Regions from separate parts of the Homo sapiens genome. Here all the other regions are linked to region 7. The links are contacts of gene promoters, found by promoter capture Hi-C in blood cells and fetal thymus (Javierre and others, 2016). All regions are on one chromosome and are shown on one strand. Each heading gives the region's core, a stretch centred on a gene start or on the middle of the fragment in contact. The rest is flanking DNA. Distances are from core to core; before and after follow the strand shown. Region 1 has its middle 77 kb from the start of ST8SIA1. Region 2 overlaps LDHB (lactate dehydrogenase B). Region 3 has its middle 40 kb from the start of ST8SIA1. Region 4 overlaps C2CD5 (C2 calcium dependent domain containing 5). Region 5 overlaps KCNJ8-AS1 (KCNJ8 antisense RNA 1). Region 6 overlaps KCNJ8-AS1 (KCNJ8 antisense RNA 1). Region 7 holds the start of CMAS (cytidine monophosphate N-acetylneuraminic acid synthetase).

The links. Contacts are between HindIII fragments. The CHiCAGO score rates a contact against its expected background, and 5 or more counts as called.
Region 1: a fragment that was not itself captured here is called in contact with the fragment with the promoter of CMAS in region 7 in 5 of 17 cell types (naive CD8 T cells, non-activated CD4 T cells, M1 macrophages and 2 more); the score reaches 6.8 in naive CD8 T cells.
Region 2: a fragment that was not itself captured here is called in contact with the fragment with the promoter of CMAS in region 7 in 1 of 17 cell types (naive CD4 T cells); the score reaches 5.3 in naive CD4 T cells.
Region 3: a fragment that was not itself captured here is called in contact with the fragment with the promoter of CMAS in region 7 in 6 of 17 cell types (monocytes, erythroblasts, total CD4 T cells and 3 more); the score reaches 8.3 in monocytes.
Region 4: a fragment that was not itself captured here is called in contact with the fragment with the promoter of CMAS in region 7 in 15 of 17 cell types (activated CD4 T cells, erythroblasts, total CD4 T cells and 12 more); the score reaches 17.3 in activated CD4 T cells.
Region 5: a contact is called between a fragment that was not itself captured here and the fragment with the promoter of CMAS in region 7, in 7 of 17 cell types (non-activated CD4 T cells, naive CD8 T cells, total CD4 T cells and 4 more). The highest score is 10.9, in non-activated CD4 T cells.
Region 6: a fragment that was not itself captured here is called in contact with the fragment with the promoter of CMAS in region 7 in 4 of 17 cell types (total CD4 T cells, M2 macrophages, naive CD4 T cells and 1 more); the score reaches 5.9 in total CD4 T cells.

Annotation. Positions count from the first base shown.
Region 1 is chr12:22,409,894-22,413,147 of GRCh38, forward strand. No RefSeq gene overlaps it. Among named protein-coding and RNA genes, the nearest start is that of ST8SIA1, 77 kb to the left of the region's middle. The HindIII fragment of the contact is 277 bases long and covers 1,658-1,934 here.
Region 2 is chr12:21,636,483-21,639,575 of GRCh38, forward strand. LDHB (lactate dehydrogenase B) reads right to left here. Exons shown (of 8, transcript NM_002300.8): 6 at 1,871-1,988; 7 at 589-712. Among named protein-coding and RNA genes, the nearest start is that of LDHB, 20 kb to the right of the region's middle. The HindIII fragment of the contact is 3,914 bases long and covers 1-3,093 here.
Region 3 is chr12:22,372,762-22,375,693 of GRCh38, forward strand. No RefSeq gene overlaps it. Among named protein-coding and RNA genes, the nearest start is that of ST8SIA1, 40 kb to the left of the region's middle. The HindIII fragment of the contact is 1,526 bases long and covers 529-2,054 here.
Region 4 is chr12:22,456,998-22,460,291 of GRCh38, forward strand. C2CD5 (C2 calcium dependent domain containing 5) reads right to left here. Exons shown (of 27, transcript NM_001286176.2): 23 at 2,495-2,545; 24 at 1,487-1,588; 25 at 1-164. Among named protein-coding and RNA genes, the nearest start is that of C2CD5, 86 kb to the right of the region's middle. The HindIII fragment of the contact is 418 bases long and covers 1,329-1,746 here.
Region 5 is chr12:21,691,812-21,694,810 of GRCh38, forward strand. The region is part of intron 1 of KCNJ8-AS1 (KCNJ8 antisense RNA 1); the gene reads left to right. Among named protein-coding and RNA genes, the nearest start is that of KCNJ8-AS1, 31 kb to the left of the region's middle. The HindIII fragment of the contact is 7,770 bases long and covers 1-2,999 here.
Region 6 is chr12:21,711,053-21,714,083 of GRCh38, forward strand. The region is part of intron 1 of KCNJ8-AS1 (KCNJ8 antisense RNA 1); the gene reads left to right. Among named protein-coding and RNA genes, the nearest start is that of KCNJ8-AS1, 50 kb to the left of the region's middle. The HindIII fragment of the contact is 834 bases long and covers 1,090-1,923 here.
Region 7 is chr12:22,044,506-22,047,541 of GRCh38, forward strand. CMAS (cytidine monophosphate N-acetylneuraminic acid synthetase) reads left to right here and starts at 1,713. Exons shown (of 8, transcript NM_018686.6): 1 at 1,713-2,058. The coding sequence starts at 1,799. RefSeq lists enhancers at 1,530-1,824, 2,140-2,845 and silencers at 1,597-1,966, 1,610-1,837. The HindIII fragment of the contact is 10,395 bases long and covers 1-3,036 here.

The sequences.
Region 1 (3,254 bases), core at 546-3,045, 370 kb after region 7:
GAGCTCAGCCTGGGTGGCCAATACTCCGCTTGTGGCATTTGCTGGAATTAGAGCTAGGACGAGGCAGGTAAGGTCGTTTTCATTCAACCTAGAAAATGACTTTGGTTCAAAGCAGTAGCATGAACAGAATCTGAATGCACATGTTGACTATTCTTTCTGTCGGTGGCACATTAGCCCGGAGTTTCTGCTCTCCTAAGGTGGTGCCATGATGGAAAGTGCTATCACTACCCTGGCTCAAATGAGGCTTAGAAAGACAAGAAACTGGCTGGGCGCGGTGGCTCACGCCTGTAATCACAGCACTTTGGGAGGCCGAGGCGGGCAGATCACGAGGTCAGGAGATCCGAGACCACCCTGGCTAACACGGTGAAACCCCGTCTCTACTAAAAATACAAAAAATTAGCGAGGCGTGGTGGCGGGTGCCTGTAGTCCCATCTACTCGGGAGGCTGAGGCAGGAGAATGTCGTGAATCTGGGAGGCCGAGCTTGCAGTGAGCCGAGATCGCGCCACTGCACTCCAGCCTGGGCGACAGAGCGACACTCTGGATCAAAAAAAAAAAAAAAAAAAAAAAGACAAGAAACTTTTCGGTCTAAGGACATATCATTTTGCTCTGATTTGGAGCTGTTGTCTATCATTCACAGTTTCCCCTAAATGCGGCTTCTATGCTTTAACGCTAATTGAATCTTGGCTAGCTGAGTCATTCCATTTTGCATCTGTATACTTGTATTACCTTGCTTCTAGAAAGACTGTGGTGAAATACTCACTTGGAGTCTGACTTCTCTGACTGGAGAAACTGGTATTTCCAGGTATTTTCCTACAGCAATAAACACATTCTTCCCATCTATTGCTGTGCCAATCTATTTTTTCAATGCCAGTACCAAGCCACACTGAGTGATTCATCTATTTTGTCAATGACTTCTATCCGTTGCTAGTGTCCTAGTAATCTAATAGCAAGCATATGGGAGTTTCAAGAAACTAGGTAACAAGATAGAGCTGAAAGGGAAAAAACATATAAACGAACTTTGAAGCAGATAAAACACCACTATTAAAATAATTATACACATATATATCCATACAAATATATATATAACTTTTTACTCTTTTGTAGATTTGTAGAAATATTTATTAAACAGTTAAAACATGAGGGATATCCAACCAAATACCAATCTAGGTGTTGCTGTGAAGATATTTTGTAGATGTGCAGTGATGAACAAGAGACACATTATTGCTACCGTACAGTGTTTGAAACAGAGGAAACCGGGACACTGGGAGAGAGTGGAAGATGCTGAGGTCAGAGAAGGAGTCAGGGGCTAATTCCTATAGGATCTTGCAGGATTTTAATTTCAGTCTAAATGTAATGAGAAAACACGGGGTGGTGGGGTTAATAGAGGGGGCTTGATCTGGGGAGCTCTATTATCTAGATGTTTCTATACAATTGTATCTGCTTTGTTGTGGACTTTTTAAAAACTTTTCTCTATAGTCAATGTGTGATAAAATTTTAAGATTTCTCATGGTCTTTGGACACTTAAACCTCAGACCGGTTTTGGAATATCCTTCCCTAAAAATTTTAACAAGGGACAAATTTAATAGAGAGACGACTGATCTGGGTGACCTCCTGAACCCCCTCCCAACATGTAATTCTGTATGTTGTGTTTTGAAAAGCTTCCATTTGTGCGATGCCTAGCATCTAATCTCAAAACTGTTCCCTGCAGTTGATAAGTGGTGTTTTTCATGCTCTTAAGTGGGAAATAGACCTCCATTTCGGGCCTAGCGTCTATACAGAAGCATAAGCCATAAAGACTTGCATTTTAACAGTTGATGCACTAAATAAATCTCTTATTCATGTTCCATTTTACTTGTTTGTCATTCATCTTATAATGAATTGTGTTAAATGCTTTGTCAGTTAAACTTCCCTAACTTGTTTTTCTTATTTCTTAAGCTTTTTCGAAAATGTTCAGTGCCTATATTATTATTATTATTATTATTATTATTACTATTTTGAGATAGAGTCTCGCTCTGTCACCCTGGCTGGAGTGCAGTGAGGCAATCTCGGCTCACTGCAACCTCCACCTCCTTGTTCAAGCGATTCTCGTGCCTCCGCCTCCTGAATAGCTGGGATTACAGGCATGTGCCACCACACCCAGCTAATTTTTGTATTTTTAGTAGAGACAGGGTTTCGCCATATTGGCCAGGCTGGTCTCAAACTCCTGACCTCAGCTGACCCACCCGCCTTGGCCTGCCAAAGTGCTGGGATTACAGGCGTGAGCCTCCACGCCCGGCCGCCTTTATTATTTAAAAAAAAAAAAAAAAAAAAAAAAAGTTGACCAGGAGCAAAAAGATTGTTTGAAACGCTCATTATATACATTAGCATACACGTGGTTTAAAATATAAAAGATACTTAGTTCTCCATAATCTAGGATTCTAGAAAGCTAGTTTACAATGAATAATGTATCTGGAAGAGGGTGGCTATTAGAACCTCTGGGGCTTTGCCATTTCAAATGAGAAAATATATTCTGTTCATAAGTGCATGGCATTTTCAGTGGTTGCAGAGACACCAATAACTAAGCACATTTGATTATAATATTAACAAAAAATTAGGCAGGGAACTTAGCAGTTTTTAATAAATTTAATACATTCAGAACTGGTAGGATAGAATAAGTATTCCTGAAGTGGTCTATAAAGTTTGAAATGGACTCCTTTCTAATCCTTCTTTGATTCTGACCTGAAAGTAGAATTGAAATTATGCTTGCAAGATTCCCACAGCTGTGTGGCTCTTTAGAACCAAGCCAAGTATAGAAAGAATCCAAGGGAAGTTTAAGCCGGCTTCTCTCTGTGTCACGTAACCAAAATCAAATCTTTCCCGAGGCAACAAACTACAATACATTATCTATTCTAGGATGGTTAAAAAAACAAATAAATAATAAAGCAAGATGTGATAATTTTAGTTAATAATGTACATCATTGTTCTTACTCAGTTCTCTGTGGAGGATCTCATAACCTAGGGAAAGAAACAGGAAGCAATTAACTACAATGGAGTCAGATACTTGAGGTAACAGAATAACATATGGGAAGCAAAGTAGACATGGATCCCAATTTTGCTTCTTCTAGTTTCAGTCCTTTCACTGATGTGCAGAAGGTCACTGTATCCAAGATAGAGCCTCCTGAAACACAGTACAGGTAGACGTATAGCAAACTGAAGGCCCCAAAGATTAATTGGCGTAAAAATGGGTATTTTTAGATAGATAGTATGCATCTAT
Region 2 (3,093 bases), core at 39-2,538, 410 kb before region 7:
ATTTTGTACATACACAAAAGTAGATAGAATAAACAAATTCCTATGTATGTACCCAAAGACTCAGTAATTACCCAATTATTGACACACTTGATTTACACTGACTTGTGGAAAATGAGTCAGTTGTCTTACAAAATATTTTAATATAATTTTAGTTTTGTTTAAAAAATCATTAATTTCTACCTGTTTTGTGCATTTGCTCCATAGCTTTTGAATTAAACTGTATTTGCTAAGGTATCAAGTGCTATATGAAAGGCAATCTAGAGTTTAGTACATCAACTTTAAATGAAACTCTATTACACTTATTCAAATGATCAATACTTTAAGAATGTGCTAAGATTCAGAGTTAATATTTAATTTGCAAAATTATATAAAGAATGACAACAATCTATTGAATGTCTTAGATTCTCTAAGTTTTCTGCCCTTGCTGTCCAAGACTTCTGTTGGAAAATGAGAATAGTTTACATAAAACTTTGAGAGACAGAAATAACCTTGAACTATGATTTTATCTGGTCTGAGCCTCTTTAAATGAATCTTTTTGTAGAATACAATGCGAGAAATCATATTACATTTTGTGGTAGTTTGTCTTACCTTTACCATTGTTGACACGGGATGAATCCTGGATAGATTTTTCAACATGGATTCAATAAGATCAGCCACACTTAATCCAATAGCCCAGTTGGTATATCCTTTTAGCTTGATGACTTCATAGGCACTTAAAAAAATTATAAAAGACATCACTGAAATAAGACTCAATCATTATTGAAACCAGACCTGACTTTGACTACTGCTCTGTCTCTAACTATAATCTTGGGCAAATTATTTACCCTTTATTGCCTTAGTGTTCCCTTTTTGAGTGTTAAATGAATTAATATATATGTAAAATGCTTAAAACTGTAAGCACTACACAGTAAACACTATATAAATGCTTGATAACTTTAGTTTATTGTATAAGTTAAGATTTATAAAGTCACTGTGGCAAAAATATACATTTTCCAATCATTGTAACAAATCTGTAAACATATTTCCAAACACATAAAATCAGGAAACAATAAAAGTGAAAGAACAAAATATATCTCAATTGTGAGGTCCCACTTGCCACTGTCACCTAACATAATCAACTAACTAATAAAAGGGATAAGAGTATCTTGCCTGACAGTTTTTTCAGCACAAATTGTAGCTCTTAAAACCCATAAAGGCCCTGGCACTTGAGAAGCAGCAGGAATAACTCTAGCTGAGTATTGGAAAATTAGGATTTAATGCAATTGACACCCAATCATTAGAAGACCTTGGACCAGTTACACTATCTGGGTGAGCCATAGTTTTCTCACTTGTAAAATAAAGGTATATGTTAATTGAAATTATAAAGACTCTTTCAACTTTTTTAAGGTTCCTTTTCTCCACATATAGTTCAAATTCCTGAAAAAAAAATTACTAAAATTGAACAAAATGATTCTATATTTGAGACATCAGTTAGTCCTGTTATTAAAACTTAAACACTGTTAGCAATCAGCAAGCAAGTTTATTTATTTGGGGCAATTATGAAACCAATAGTTTCTAAGTTTACTTTTCTAAATAAATCAACCTTATTTGTTGAGAGGTGGCAATTTGAAGACTCTTCTCACTTGTTAATTCCACATTTTGCTCCTGTTACCTCTACAATAGAGTTTCTCTAGAGAAAATATTTACTTTCCCTAGGGAGACTGGCATAGCAAGTTTGACCAGTGTAAAAGTCTTATCAGTTTCAAAAGATAACAGCTGCATAATTACTACATTAAGAGTTTATCTGAGCAGACAGCCATGGAAAATGTTTATAATTTTATTTAAGTAGAGTTGAAATTAATCATCTAAAATCAAGTTCCCTTTCACTTACCTTTCAACCACCATCTTATGCACTTCCTTCCAATTTTCACTATCATTGTCAGTTCCCATTTCTGGATTCAATTCCTGGAGAGAAACACCTGCCACATTCACACCACTCCACACAGCCACTGTTTAAAAAAAAAAAAAAAGACATTGCAGTTATTTCTTACATTATTTTAAAAAATATTTTCTTCTTTTAGTGCAATTTCACCTATGATGCAAATTACTGAATACCAACTGGAACTGCTCCAATAAGTGACTCTCCAGTAGATTCCAGTATAGTTCCCCAAAAAGGCTGACGTTTGCCTTCAAATAGCAACATGTCTGACCTTTTAACTTTCAAGAATTTTAGTGCAAAGCAGAATTGCTGTGTCATAGTTACAGAGAAAATAAAATTCTTTGCTTCTCTCTAGGTGTGTGAAATCACAGGGATTCTAGTTGGGGACTATGCTAAACTTTTGGTTTGAGGAATGTTTAACTTTTCTCCTCCATATTTTTCTAATATATGCTCCTTTATTCTACAGTAAAGAAAAAAAATCCTAGAATAAGACCCAAATAAAGCATAATTATGAAAGTGGGGTAAAAATTATAAATAAGGGTCTACTTAATTTAAAGGAGAAGAGTATCAGAAAGAACTACACAAAATGGGCCTTTGAATTGGACCTTAAAACCTAAGTTATATGTTTCTTGGAGACCTTTGGAGGAGTACATTGTAGACTCTGGAAATAGGAGCAAAAGTGTGGGGTAGAATCTACTATGACTGAAACAGATATGAAGGGAAAAGCTATTTAAAGCCAAATAAGATCCCCTATTAGTCCACAACTTCTGGCAAGTTAGGGTAATTGGATATTTTTACAATTTTGATGAAAATTATGAAATCTGCATAATCATGTCTAGTGAGCATGGTTTAATTCTCTTTCATTTTACGTACACAATATAGATCAACATGAAAAATTTTAAAAAGATGTTCTGGGAAAAATAACAGCCATAATGTAATAGAACATTGGACGGGAATCAGAAGACATAATTCTAGTGGTAGCTATGGCATTAACTAACTAAAAGTTCTTCAATAGCTACTTCACCTACTTTGCCTTATTTTTTTTCTCACTAAAATTAAAGTCCTGAACTAGAGGACATGTAATATCACTTTTTCTCACTAAAATTAAAGTCCTGAACTAGAGGACATGTAATATCACTTCTATCACCTAGCAATGTATAACTACACCTAGCATT
Region 3 (2,932 bases), core at 42-2,541, 330 kb after region 7:
TTGGAAAAGGCAGAACTACAGGGAGAGAGGATAGATCAGTGGTTGTCAGAGGTTGGGACTGGAGAGTGATTTGATGCCAAAGGGATATTGAGAAATGTTCTTTTCATGATGAAACTGTTATGTATCTTGATTGGGTGGTGGTGATCCTATGACTCTATGCATGTTTCACAATTCAAAGAACGGTACACTAAATAGTAAATTTTACTATATGTAAAATTAAAATATAATCAGACATACATTTCTAAATAAATTAAATTTTAATCTTGTTAGATTCTCTCTCCATGTAGTTTTTATCAACCCAGTGTGCTTTTGCCTTATATCTAGCCACAATTCTATGAGTATAGCATAAGTGGAAAACAGACTTTTATGGATAATCAGTAGTCTCCACCATATAAAGTTTAATTCTGCATGAAATCATTCTCTAGTACAAACCCTTTCTATATAGATCTGCAAATAAAATGATGTGAAGATTAAAAATTTTCAGGTTGCAGAACAAAAACATTGTGCCAATTCTGTCCTCTATGTAGAAGCTTGGTAAGACCATTGCAGGCTGTTTGATAAACTATAAAGGGAAGAGAAAACCAACTGCAAGGGACTAGACAGAGGAAAAAAATGAAAGTACAAGGCAGGGTAAAAGAGAAGAATACAGTGTAAACAGAGAGGAGAGACAGGATTAGAAAGGGAAGAAAAGATAAATGGGGAATAAAATATGAAAAAAATAGACAGTGTATGAAATTTTTATATCTTTGTTATGTGGAATAATTTTTCATGGTTGTAGCTATAAAGCAAAACTGAAGTCAATTGGGAACTATGTGTTACTTTGTTTTGGTAAGTTAAATTAAGTTTCTCACACAATGAAACAAATTACTAAAAGTCTCCCTCATTACAAAAATATTGCCAATTATTTCTCCTTAGTTCTAGCTTATAACATCACTGTCTATCTCAGAAAATGAAATTGTCTAAATGTCCTTTTAAGAGTATCTCTGATGCTGGTTCTCACGTCCTTCAAATGTAGAAAAACTACTTTCTCCATAAATGTTAAGTTGCAAACAACATTGAAATCAATTTATAAGCTAGATAAAGACTACCATAAAGTTTCCACAAAAGTACACTCACCTCATGCTGCTGATGTAAGCATTTAACATAAAAGGTTTATATATGCAGTTCTCTGGAACCTCTCTCTAAAAGTTAGCAATCCCTATCCATCCCAAACAACCAGAGAACAACCAGTCTGCAAATCTGAGCGCAGTCTGCTTTTCTGCTTTCTACTACACTTGGTGCCATTTTGGTCTCTCTCAAGGCCTTCAGCTTTGTGTTGAGAAGGGGACCCCTCTCCTCCCTCTCCATCAGCAATATCAAGGTCAGGGAAGCATTTTTAAAAGTTTCTGCTTAGGTCTGATTCTCCATACCACAGCATATATTTGAATTATGACATGCGTGTCAGTGATTTTCAACCAAGGAGATGTTGTTCTCAAGGTTTGGCAATGTCCAGAGACATCTTTGGCCATGATTACTGGGGGAAGGATGCTACTGGCATCTAACAGGTGGAGGCCGGGAATGCTGCTAAATTCTACAACACACAGGACAATCTTCCACAACAAAGAATTAATTAATTCAAAATATCAGTAGTGCCAAGGTTGGGAAACACTGATCTATATATATATATATATTTCAACATCTACCTCTTTATCTGTATCTATTTTTAAACCAAGTAGTCGTTTGGGGTTTCTGGTAGTTTTTGTAATTAGGGATGTTTGGAGTTTTCAGGTAAGCATGTTTGGTTGGTTAAGAGACCACCCAGATTAATTAGCAGACTCACTGGAGACCTTGAATAATGTCTTCAGTAATACTGAGCATTGGGAATTTGATTCTGACTCAAGCTGCAGAACCCTGGTTTATGTAGCCACATAAACTCTGAAGAGGAACACTGTCTCTTTCAGAGTGGAAACTTCCACAGTTCTAACGTTTTCACTTCCTCCCTTCACAAGGGAAATAATAATATTCTTGTGAAACTTAAAAAATAATACCAAAAAGCGAGAGAAAAAAAGGAAACAAGCTTTAAGCATGAAACACCAGCATAATTATACATGCAAATACTTGGATAATTACTACTTCTTTACCTGGCATTATAGTACATTAATAACATAATAGTAAACTGAATTTACCCTTAAATGGATCCTTAGGCTCAAGTAATATTGTTCATCTCTAAAAGGCACTGGAAGTACAAAACAAGTTCACCCTGGTAAGTGGATAGATAATTTATAATATAAAATAAATCCAATAAAATTCTTGATGTCTTCTTTAAAACTAAAAAAGTATTAAAATGCTTTTGTCACTCTGACAAAAGCATTCAAATGGGGGATAAATGAGAGTGAAGCAGAAAACTTTAGTTTGCAAGTTCCAATTTCCTCTGTAAGAGTCAAAAGATAAGGTTAGCTTTTGAGGCATCCTATCAATACTTTAGAAACCAGTGTTGGTTAAGTATAATGAAAAAAAATTAATCATTGTGTTGTTTTATGTGCATTTACAATTTTGTTTATTTTTAAAAAATTTCTATGGGTACATTTATGGACATATTTAAGAGTCTTTACAACACGAAAAAAATTCACTCTATTGGACTTATAGAAATATTAAGAATAAAATCTATGTTTAAATATTTCAAAATTTTAATTGGCTACATTAATAAGTTTTTATTTATAGTTGCATAAGGAGTTTGTGAATATTTGGAAATACCTAGATTAAAGATTAAACAGACATTACTTGACATACAAATAAAAGTAAGGGGATAAAGTCCTCCGTAAAACTATAAGTTTTACAAAATATAGCGACAGCCAAGTAAAAACGGGTTCTGGAAGAATCTCCCACCAGCCTGCACAGTGGGAGGACAGGGCGGGACCTCGGGAAGTTCGCGTTGTTTGCAGCGGGGAGGATC
Region 4 (3,294 bases), core at 288-2,787, 410 kb after region 7:
AAAAAACATGTTAATTATCCCAAGATACTTAGTTATTTTTGCTCCAGGAATAAAAGAAAGAGGTGTCATCTTAACAACCCCAACTGTGGAATTTGCACAAGGTGGAGCAGAACGATTCCGGAAATTTCCATCACCCACTGGACTTGCTTTTTCAACTGTCATGGCTAAAATTGGAGAAAAATGAGAAAACATTCAGAACAGACGCTGGTAACACAATTATTCCCTGAGGTTTCCAAATAAGTGGTGACAACATTCAGCTGTCTGTGAGGCTAAGCCATGTCATGAAAGAAAAGAAATTATCATGCACTGCATGCAATTAAAAAAGAGAGACAGAAAAACATGAGAGGAAATGCTGGAATGGAATTCTTTTGGAAGAAAAATGGCATTCCTGCAAAAGAAAATGTTGATGCAGTATAGCTACACACACAATGATTGGTTATAAAGTGAAGAAAAAGAAAAAGCGGCTGAGCATTAAAATTATCTGCTGTAGGAACAAATTATTACAAGGAGAGTGTGAAAGTTGTTCTATTTCCCAGTGCAATTTTTCCATCTTTTTCAGACGACTTCATCATTGTCAACTTGTAGATAAACCTTATGTTATCTAGTTGTAAGATACTGGTTTTTTCCAAACCTTTTTGAAAACCAACTCATAATTTTAAAAGCTTAACGACCTCTGCTAGCTAAAAGTTGGTTGTTTATAAAGTAAAAAAATAATAGCTACCACTTATTAAATAACTGCCATAAGCCAGACATATATATATATATCTAATCCTTACAACCACCCAAAAACACAGGTTATCATCATCATCCCCATTTCATGCATGAGGAAATGGAAGGTTAGAGAAGTTAAGTAACTTGCCCAAGGTCTCATAGCTATTAAAATGGCACTTCTAGGATTCAGAACCAGATCTGGCTGGTTTCACATCCTATATTATTTCCTGTGAAATGTAGTTTTTTCCCCCTTTTAATGTACGGTAAGCTCTTTCACTCAAATATATTTACCTCAAAATTTACCAAAACACATGGCATAAGATAACATATAAGTAATGATTCTGATTCTAGCAGTAAGGTAATAACTACTTTCTCACCATAAATTCTTTATTAGTTTAGCCCTCTGCATATCACACTTAATAAACCGACAGATGCCACATACTAAATAGTACCTTGGGTCCTGGAAGAATGTCTTTTCAATAAGAGAGTTGGCAATTTACTTCCAATTAGAATGATATAATATCTATTTATATACTTTTAAGAATACCTGCACAAAAAGGAAAATTTTAAAAACACAATTCTATAGGTAAAACTAATAAATCTAAAGGCCTTTCAAAAGCTTTTCCTAAATGACCGTTACAGTCTGCAGCTTTCACACTCTAATACATGATGGATTGGCAATGTTATTACTGGGTAGTAAGGTCTAGCTTTCACCACTGGGAAATCAGGGATATGTTTCTCAGATTATCATAATGTGGTAGAAACATCCGCCTACTTGTCTTAATTGATCCACGCCTTATGGTCTGAGCTTTCAGTTTAATGAGCTCTATCCAGCTGCTGCATCTGTCTGCAAAGGAACTGTAATCAACTGACGTTGCTGAAAACACAGACAGAAAACAAAAGAAAAAAACAAAGAAAAAAATATGGATGATGTCTCTTACTCGTCTTAACACTCCTTTCGATGATGTAATTTAACTGTAACTCAGAAAAAGAATGGTCCTTTTCAAGTCAGATAAGAGAGATAGTAAAGAGTCAAGCTTTAGACACTGATTTGTCCAAAACCAAGTTCTCAGTTAGCAGGCTGAGCATTTCTGGTGATGTCATAGTTGTGTGGTCTCCTAGGGAGAGCCTGAGTGGGGTCTAACATAAATATCAATGAAAGGACCACATACTGTGCTTTAACTAACTTTATTTCCTATTCTTCTTAATTTACAATATTTCAGTTGTTTCTATTTTATTTTATAATCAAAGCTTTGTGAATAATTCATTTCCCTAGTTTTACCCTAAAATTTTAAAAAAAGAGAATCAAATGTTGAAGAATATATTTTTAAAAGTTAGTAGTTGACTTATCTGTTATTAAAGTATCTTCTTTCTACAATCAGTAAGAGGAAAACCAAAGGGCCATTTTTGTTAATGTTTTGTTTCCATGTCTGATTTTGGGCAACAAAGCCTCTGATAATATGGGGTCAGGGCAGGTGTGAGCCTCACAAGTTCCCCCTTTTAAAAACAATAACTTTTACTACTGCTAAGCTGGAAAAAAAATTTTAAGGAGCTAAAATTTTATGCTTAGAAACTGGGAAACCATTAACATACTAAAAAATTTAAATATTAGTTTAATTGATGCTTTTAAAAGAACATATTCTACCTACAAAAAAAAAAAAGCCAGATTTTGGTGTCTATTCCATATTGTCCAGTGCATTTTCTTCAATGTCTATAATTTTATGCACCACCAAACTAGAATTTTACACCTTTGGTGACTATTTGCTTAATTAGACAAACTCACCTCTCTGTGCAGCTGGTATACCTGAGTTAGAACTTGCACTCTCCAGGTGTTCTAATAAGACAATATGAACAACATTAGCTCAGATGCTAAGTACAAGCCAGTACCTCTTCTTTGTTATTTGTTAATACCTCTATAAGCCAGAAGAATAGGAGGAAATCTTTATGGCTTCATTGCAAAAGCAAACCAAATAAAAGCATCTAGGTTTAAAATGCAGTTTCTATTGATAAATGAAAACTAGCTCAGTTCATAAATACCATGCCAAAGGAGACTACTTGCTTACTGTAACACAAAAAGAGTTTCAGAAACTTTATAGTCACAAGAAAATATAAACATAGTAACGAATGTGAGTATGATGAAAGCAGGATGTGAGACTAGGCAGAGAAAAGGGTCAATGTGTTGGGAAGAATATCTGAAATGAAACATGGAAGGAAAATGTTTGCTGTGGGGAAGAGTCTATAAGATTACAAATTACAGACAAGATAATGATTATGCTTCACAGATCAGCATAAGCTGCTCCCTAGTCTTAACTCTCACCACCAACTTCTTCATTCGAAGACTTCGATATCAACAGCTCCCTCTGGTGGTATCAAGACTTTGTGAAACTAAAAAATGAGTGATCACAGAGGTAACCAGGAATCCCAAGCCAGTATCACTCCCTTTCCAGTAACCTGACAGTAGCATCCAGAATTTTCCCTGATATTTTTTATTACAGGTATTTAAGGTATTGTACAAATTTAAATAGCACTATAAAAAAACTTCATAACCTATTTTTAATGCTCATGTTCTACCCACATTAGAAT
Region 5 (2,999 bases), core at 496-2,995, 350 kb before region 7:
AACAACCCTCAACAAAATACTAGAAAAGCAAATCCAGCAGCATATCAGAAAGCTAATCCACCATGATTAACTAGGCTTTATTGATGTGAAAGATTGGTTCAACACACACAAATCAATAAGTATGATTCATTATATGAAAATAACTAAAAGCAAAAACTACACAATCATCTCAATAGACACAAAAAGGCTTTCAATAAAATTCAACATCTCTTCATGTTAAAAATGCACAACAAACTAGGCGTTGAAGGAATGTACCTCAAAACAGTAAGAGCCATCTATGACAAACTCACAGTCAACATCATACTGAATGGGCAAAAGCTGGAAGTATTCCCCTTGAGAACCAGAGCAACCAGGGAAGAGAAAGAAATAAAAGGCATCCAAATAGGAAGAAAGGAGGTCAAACTATCTTTGCAGATGATATGATTCTATACCTAGAAAATCCCATAGTCTCTTCCCCAAAACTCCCAGATCTGATAAACAACTTCAGCAAAGTTTCAGGATACAAAATCAATGCACGAAAATCGCTAGCACTCCTATACGCCAGGAACATCCAAGCTGAGAGCCAAATAAAAAAACTTATTCCTATTCACAGTAGCCAAAAAAATAATAACATATATAGAAATACAGCTAACCAGGAAGGTGAACAATCTCTACAATGAGAATTAAAAAACACTGCTGGAAGAAATTAGGGGTGACACTAACAAATGGAAAAATATTCCATGTTCATGGATAGGAAGAATTAGTATTGTTAGATTGGCCACGCTGCCCAAAGCAATGTGCAGATTCAATGCTATTCTTATCAAACTACCTCAATGATATTTTTTCACAGAATTAGAAAAAAGTATTCTAAAATTCATGTAGAACCAAAAAAAAAAAAAAAAAAGCCTGAATAGCCATGGCAACCCTAAGCAAAAAAGCAAAGCTAGAGGCACTTTAATACCCAATTTCAAACTATACTACAAGGCTATTGTAGCCAAAACAGCATAGTGCTGGTACAAAAACAGACACATCGACTAAGGGAACAGGTTAGAGAACCCAGAAGTAAAACCACACATGTACAACTATCTGATCTTCAACAAAATTGACAAAAAACAAGCAATGGGGAAAGAACTCCTTATTTAATAAATGGGGCTGGGATAACTGGCTTGCCATATGCAGAAGATTTAAACTGGACCCCTTACTTTCACCATATACAAAAATCAACTCAAGATGAATTAAAGACTTCCATGTAAAACCCAAAACTATAAAAATTTTAGAAGAAACCCTAGGAAATCCCATTCTGGACATAGGCCCTGGCAAAGATTTCATGATGAAGACTTCAAAAGCAATTGCAGCAACAATAAAACTCGACAAATGGTACCTAATTAAACTAAAGAGCTTCTGCATAGTTGAAAGAAACTATTAACAGAGTAAACAGAAAACCTACATACATAATGGGGGAAAATATTTGCAAACTATGCACCCAACAAAGGTCTAATATACATAATCTATAAGGAACTTAGACAAATTAACAAGCAAAAACCAAACAACCCCATTAAAAAATGGACAAAGGATATGAAGACACTTCTCAAAAGAAGACATACATGTAGCCAACAAACACATGAAAAGAAGCTCAACATTACTAATCGTTAGAAAAACGCAAACCAAAACCATAATGAGATACTATCTCACACCAATCGGAATGGCTATTATTAAAAGGTCAAAAAATAACCGATGCATGTGAGGTTGTGGAGAAAAGGGAGCACTTACACACCGCTGGTAGGAATGTAAATTAGTTCATCCTCTGTGGAAGTCAGTTTGGAGATTTTTCACAGGACTTAAAACAGAACTACCATTCAACCCAGCAATCCCGTTACTAGGTATATACCCAAACTACCATAAAGACACATACACGCATGTGTTCATCGTAGCACTATTTACAATAGCAAAGATGTGAAACCAGCCTAAATGCCCATCAATGATGGACTGGATAGAGAAAATGTGGTATGTATATACCATGGAATACTATGTAGCCATAAAAAGAAGGAAATCATGCCCTTTACAGTAACACGATGGAGTTGGAGGCCATTATCCTAAGCAAATTAATGCAGGAGCAGAAAAGTAAATACTGCATATTCTCTCACCTGGGAGATAAACACTGAGTACACATGGACGCAAAGAAGAGAACCATAGACACCAAGACCTACTTGGTGGTGGAGGGTAGGAGGAGGGTGAGGACCAAAAAACTACCTATCAAGTCCTATGCTTATTATCTGGGTGACTAAGAAATCCCATGACACACAATTTAGCCATGTAACAAACCTGCACACGTACCCCCCCGAACCTAAAATAAAAGTTGCAAAGAAAAAAAAACCAGTATTAAGCAGGTATATTTCTGTTTTTACTAATGTATCTTTGGGTTGATTCCTAGAAGTAAGACAGCTGGATTAAGGGTCAGGATTTTGTATTGTTTTCTAATCTCAATGGGCAGTCTTGAGGTATGTAGCTTTTGCCATGGTCATAGTGAAACTGGAAAAGTTCCCTTGTCCCCTTCGCAGGGCATGCGAGAGAGGGAGTGGCTAGCTTCTTCAGTGTTTCGCTGCTCACATCTCTGGGGGAGCATACAGATGGGCAGGATGTGGGGCTTCGACCCCATGGCAGTGTCTAGGGGTGAATTTTTACAGCTCCTGAAGCCCCAGTGAGTGTGTGCTACTGGGGGCTCTTAGTTTTGCTGTCTATAGGCAGCTTGTGTTAATCAGCTCAATTAGACACTCTGCCTCGTGGCAAGGACAGAGGCCTTTCTGTATCCCGGGTTCTTGCCTTGGTGTGCCTGAAGAATCGGTTCACACGTGGGCTTGAAGAATGAGTGCAAGGTTTTACTGAGTGGAAGTAGCTCTCAGCAGATGAGGGAGCCAGAAGGAAGATGGTTTTCCTCTGGAGTTGGGCTGCTGGATGGCCTGGGCGCTCTCCTCCGACTGCCCCAGCCAAACTCCGTGTCAGTCTGCCAGTCGGTTGGTGGC
Region 6 (3,031 bases), core at 257-2,756, 330 kb before region 7:
AAAGTGAAAACCCTGTGAGGTTAAGTATGATGTGCCATTTCCCTCAGAGAATTATCAGGATAGCTGAAGTTCTAGTCACCTACTCTTCACTCTGTACTCTTCCTGGCACACTGCCTTACTTCTTTATTAAAAGGCTCAGGGAGAACAAGCCATTTCTGTAGCACACTTACAACATTTTTGGGAGCGGCTCCATAAATCTCTCTAGTGTGTAACAATGGGATAATAAAACTCCGGGATTTGGAATTTACTGTGGTTCTCATCTTCTCTCCAGGCCTTTGTGACTTAGGAAGTCCATATGCTAAAATCTCAGAAAGGGTGATTCAGAGAGACCTCCTTTAATTTGGAGCTTGCTGGTGACCTCCTATTTATTTGCTTCCTCTTATTTTTTTTTCCAAACTAAGGTTTTTCACAGGACTTCATATAATTTTTCCAGCTTTTCTGGTATAAACCATCTGTGGTCACTTTGCAGAGTCTCTTTAGGTCATGGGAAAGTTCTGTCTTTCCTGCATAGCACATATATGAGCCCTGCTCACCACAGCCACTGTTAGTGGACAGTTCTATTTGTCCCTAAGGAGTTGAGATGTAGTCACAATGACAAAATGTTGCCTATCTACAATTGTGATAAAGTTTAGAATGCTCATACACTTAATTAACTCATTGGTCACTGTTAAAAATGAGTTTTACCTCTTTTCTCAGAGAGGCAAGCTATTATAGAATCTCTGCAAGAAAATGACAGTTGTAAATACTCTGATGTGTTAGTACAGTAGTACCTTTATGTTGGTTTTCCAGATACCTTTTAACTTTAAAATACCCATCAAAAGCGTACAAACATGTGATATATTGCCAGACATGCTTTGTCATTGTCTTCAGGATGTGTCATGTCCTGTCCTATCTGCTCTCAAGTCTTGATCACTTACCTGTTCTTATCAGACTAACTTCCTTCAAGACTCAGCCCCCTTGACTACTCTAATCCACAATGCCTCAGATTTCCAAAATACAAATTATTCCATGGGCTGATATTTGAATATACCTTGTCATCTACATGTGATTTGTCTTTCATGTGTATGCACATTTGTGAGTGGAACTATAAGCTTCTTGAAGATGGGGACTATCTCCTGCAATTCTCCTGAAGATCAGACATATGCATGGTTACTGCATGCACATGTTATTTTAAATAATAATTTCTAAAAATAACAATACATACCCCTTGCAGTTATTCTAAGAAATCCCAAGACAATAAGGCAAATCTGAATGATCAAAAGATTGCAAACAATGTATTTGCCTATTTTCTGTTTTTTTTTCTACAAAAATGTGTATGTGGATTTGTGTGAGAGTGTGATATCAAACTTGGATTATTCAATATACAGTTTTGTTACTGGATTTTTTTTTTAAAGTAACCGATTATGAATATTATCCAAGTGCATAATCTTACTAACCGTAATTTATTTAACTATTCCCCTATTGTTAGATATTTAAGTTGTTTCAGTTTTGACTTTATTATTAAAAATGTTTTGGCAAATATCTGTGTATCTTTCTCCCAGGAAACTTTTACCAATTTATAATTCCCCCAATAGATCACAGCGCTCTTTTCATTCCATTTATAGGCAAAAGTTGTCTTATTTTTAATTACATTCTTTGTTTCTTAGGGAGATGACCAATTTAATATGTTTAATAAACATTTAAATTTTTTCTTTGGTGAACTGCTCATTTGTGATTCTTCTCAATTTAATTTGTTGTGTGATATGTTGCTCTCAGGTTCATAAGAATTAATTATGTCTTAAAGACATTATCTGAATCCATATTTATTGGAAGTATTTTTCCATTTTAGAGTTTACCTTTAATTTTGATACTGGCAGTTCTTGATAGTATTTACAAATAATTAAATCTAGTAATTGTTTTCTTTGTGAGTTTTCCATTTCTTAAAGCTTAACTTTTCCATATAAAGCTTTGAAAATGTTTGTTTATATTTTCTCCTGGTTTTTATTTTTCTGCTTTGAATTTTTATTTATTTATTTATTTATTTTGGTTTTAAGGAGTAGAGAGTTTAGTAGACAAAAAACAAGGGAGAAGGCAGGAGGAAGAAGCTCCCCCGTGCAGAGACAGAGAGGGGGGGCTCCAAAACTGAAAGAGGAATCCCCCAAATTTTTAATTTTTAACTTTATGATACACTTGGAATTATTTGTTTTTTTACTCTCAAATAATTGATACATTTTCCAGGATCATTATGGAATAGTTCTTTTTCTGCTTATCAGCTATTTTCTTATGTATTATGCATTTTTTTTTGCTGATTATGTATTTTCTTACTGATCATACATGTAGCATATACTAGTTTTTTGTATGTGAGCATTCTTGGGGTCTTGATTATACTCCTTTGATCTATTCATTCCTGTTTAAGTTTCACAGTTTTGATTGTTGTACCTTTATAGTAAATTTTAACATCTAGTAAGACAAATTCCTCATGTTATGATTTTGTTCCTCACAAAAATCTACTTGTTTGTCTTGCTCATTTTATCTTACAGAAGTTTAGAGTTATTTGCCAAGTTAAACATGTCTGCTTGGGATTCTGCATAGAATTGCACTAAACCTTAATATTCTTTGAGATGCAATAACAAAAATAGTTGATAGCATTTAGTATATTCTTCTCAATTGGACTAACACTCCTCCCATGCTGGAAGATAACTAACTTCCAGGCTATGCACTAGTCTAATGGTGTAAAAGGTAGGGTGTTCAACTGATGGTAACTTACTTCTAAAAGGACATTTTAAGAAGAGACTTTCCAAAGTAGCTCTCACAGCTTCTGTATTATTAATCTGTTACCTTTCTTTAAAATACTGACACGAGATTTTTGTCATTAGTAAACCTCAAGCAAATATTTTAATTCTGATACTTTTTAGCACACGGATGGCCCTTTAAAAGCCATGTTTATTAAAATATTAAAGTAAATATCTTAAACAACTTTCTTATTTGAGTAAAATTAAAAAATTTATCGCTGGAAAATTGTTCTAAAATCTATTTGTAAGACTACTACATA
Region 7 (3,036 bases), core at 463-2,962:
AGCCTGCCCCTTTCCCAAGCATGGCATTGATGTCTGCTCACAGCCTCCCTTATCTGTGTCTGCACGAAGCACCTTCTTCCAGCACCAGTCCCAGGAAGGGCTGGGCCCTCAGTTAATTCACAGACTAAGAGATGTAAAGTATCCAGTACCTCTCATAGGACCCAAAACATCAAAGACTTCTTCTCTCCCCTCAAAAATGGCCAAGACCTGAGAAGTACAAAATCCTTTTGCCCTCTGGGAGAAGGCAAGCCGACACACTACAATCCATTCTTTCTGTTTGTATCAGCCTCCATCTCAGAAATGTAAAAGACTCTACTTCCAAATATAGGCTTGCAAACATGCTGAAAGACAAAATGCATGCTAGGTCAGAGATGCCTGCTTTAAAGTCTCTTTTTTTTTTTTTCCTAAGAGAGGTGTGTGTGGGTGTATGTCTTTGAGCCTCTTGGCTGGATCAGGGTTTAAATGCTCAGGCGTGGCGGCTCATGCCTATAATCCCAGCACTTTGAGAGGCTGAGGCGGGCAGATCACTTGAGGTCAGGAGTTCAAGACCAGCCTGGCCAACCTGGTGAAACCCCCAACTCAACTAAAAATACAAAAATTATCTGGGTGTGGTGGTGCCCCTCTGTAATCCCAGCTACTCAGGACGCTTGAGAATGGGTGGCAGAGGGTTGCAGCGAGCCGAGATTGTGCCACTGCACTCCAGCCTTCTGGGGGACACAGTGAGAATCTGTCTCAAAAAAAAAAAAGAGTTTAAATGATGCCTCCAGAATTCTTTCTCTTTAATCCCTACATGTCATTGTTCTGCTTCCTCAGGGAGAACATCAGTCTTCCAGCCCATTTCAGAACAGCAAAGCCCCCCTGCCGCCCTACCCTACCCTTGCCCTGAGGCTTCAGGTTAACAAGGTCCTTAGCACCCAGTCAGCACGAGAAAGATCCTTTCTTTCCAAGACTCTCTGGAAAGGACTCCAGTGGGCTCTGCTTGGTCATATGCCTGTCCCTAGACCACAGGTGTGTTAAGGAAAATGGGGTGCGTAGATGGACCAGCTTGGGTCACACACAGTGCAGAGAATGTGAGGGAAACCCTCACCGGATGAGAGAGGGATCAATTCCTAAAAGGAAAAGATTTTTAGCAGACAACAAAACAAAACCAAAAAACCAAGTGTCGGCCACACTAGAGGTGACCAGTAAAGCTGACTTCCAAATTTCTGCTGCTAGGGAATGCTGATGTCGATCAAAGTGCGGAGAGCATATGAAAAATGGAGTTTTTAAAACGTTGAGTTTAAGGCGCCTGTAGGATATTTGAATGAGCTGGTCAGTAATTTCTTGGAAAAAATGACCCAGGGGCATTAAAAAAAGGTGTATGTTTAAAATGTACATTTTAAAATATAAAATGGATTCGTGTCAGGGTGCATCAAGGTATGCAACGGGAAACCCACCACAATTCTAAAGTGGGGAAGTTCTTCAGCAATTATAAATACTTTTTTTCTTTTTTAATTTTAGAAATTTACAGACACTTGCAAGCACCCCAAAAGCCGCACTTCCTCCAAATATCTCTGGACTCCCACTGCTTGACTTAGTTTTGGGGTCACCTCATCAGAGCCTACTTGGCCTACTGGCCCCAGACGAGGCGGCCGCGGACTACAATTCCCAGCGAGCACCGCGAGGGGCGGGGGAGGGGGCGGGGCGAGGGACGGCCGCGCGCGCCAGCTGCCAGGCGGGGATCGGGCGGCGCCGAGCTGAGGTGGTGAGGGACTAGCTCCCGGATGTGGAGAAGCTGGGGAGAAGGCGTGGGAGGAAGATGGACTCGGTGGAGAAGGGGGCCGCCACCTCCGTCTCCAACCCGCGGGGGCGACCGTCCCGGGGCCGGCCGCCGAAGCTGCAGCGCAACTCTCGCGGCGGCCAGGGCCGAGGTGTGGAGAAGCCCCCGCACCTGGCAGCCCTAATTCTGGCCCGGGGAGGCAGCAAAGGCATCCCCCTGAAGAACATTAAGCACCTGGCGGGGGTCCCGCTCATTGGCTGGGTCCTGCGTGCGGCCCTGGATTCAGGGGCCTTCCAGAGGTGCGCATGTGCGAGAGTGGGCGGCGCGGCCTGGGCGGGGGTCGGGAGAGGGAGTCGGGCTGCTGGAGGGGCTGGGGCCTCCGGGGCCACCGCTCTTGGAAGGGGGCCATCTCTCATGCCAGGGATGTGCAAGATCCGGGGTGCCTGGGGCCGGGCTGAGAGCCCAGGAGGAAGGGCTCCAGCTCCTTCCTTGTTCCGTAGCTGCCAATGGTCATAACCTGGGACAGTTCCTGTCTCCGCCCTTGAGAATCATCCGTAAAAGGGGAGATTACACCTCCCCAACCGTCCCCTCCTCCCGGGTTGACCTTACGGGGAAAAGTAAAGGAGGCCACCCCGGTGCAACATCTGTGATAATATGTGAACTTCTTTGGATGGGGGCCATCGAAGCTCCCCTGTTGCTCAGCCTCTGATAACTGCTTGGTGCTGCTCGATTAGGGAGGCATCAGGTTCATGAATGGAGTTGAGTGTCGGGGTGTCAGAGCTGAATTTCAAGCTCAGCTTGGAGATCTTTTCCTAACCTTTGAAAAATACTCCAGCTATCTTCCTGTGAGTCAGCACAATCTAGAAAACTCCCTACATTTATAAATACGTGAGACTCAGTGGGAAGGTGTACAACTGACTGTTTTATGATATATTAATACTTACAAATCATTTAATCATACCTTTGGAACCTCGCCTGCCCTATGGACAGTTTTAATTATGCGTAATTTAGATACATTGCCAAATTGGTCAGGAGTTACAAGCTGATGTTATTCATAAAAGAAGGGAGATCGAATTCTGTGCCAAGAATGAATTTACACATATAGCTTCAACCTAACTACATTTGAATGTGTTGTTATTGTGGAAATTAATTTATGTTAACCTTTTGATGTTTCGATTTTTAAAGAGATGACTGTTTTTGAAGTCATCTCTTTTTCTTTTTGAACCTATATTTGCTTACCCATATTAATATATGGGTAAATGATTTTCATTTAACCA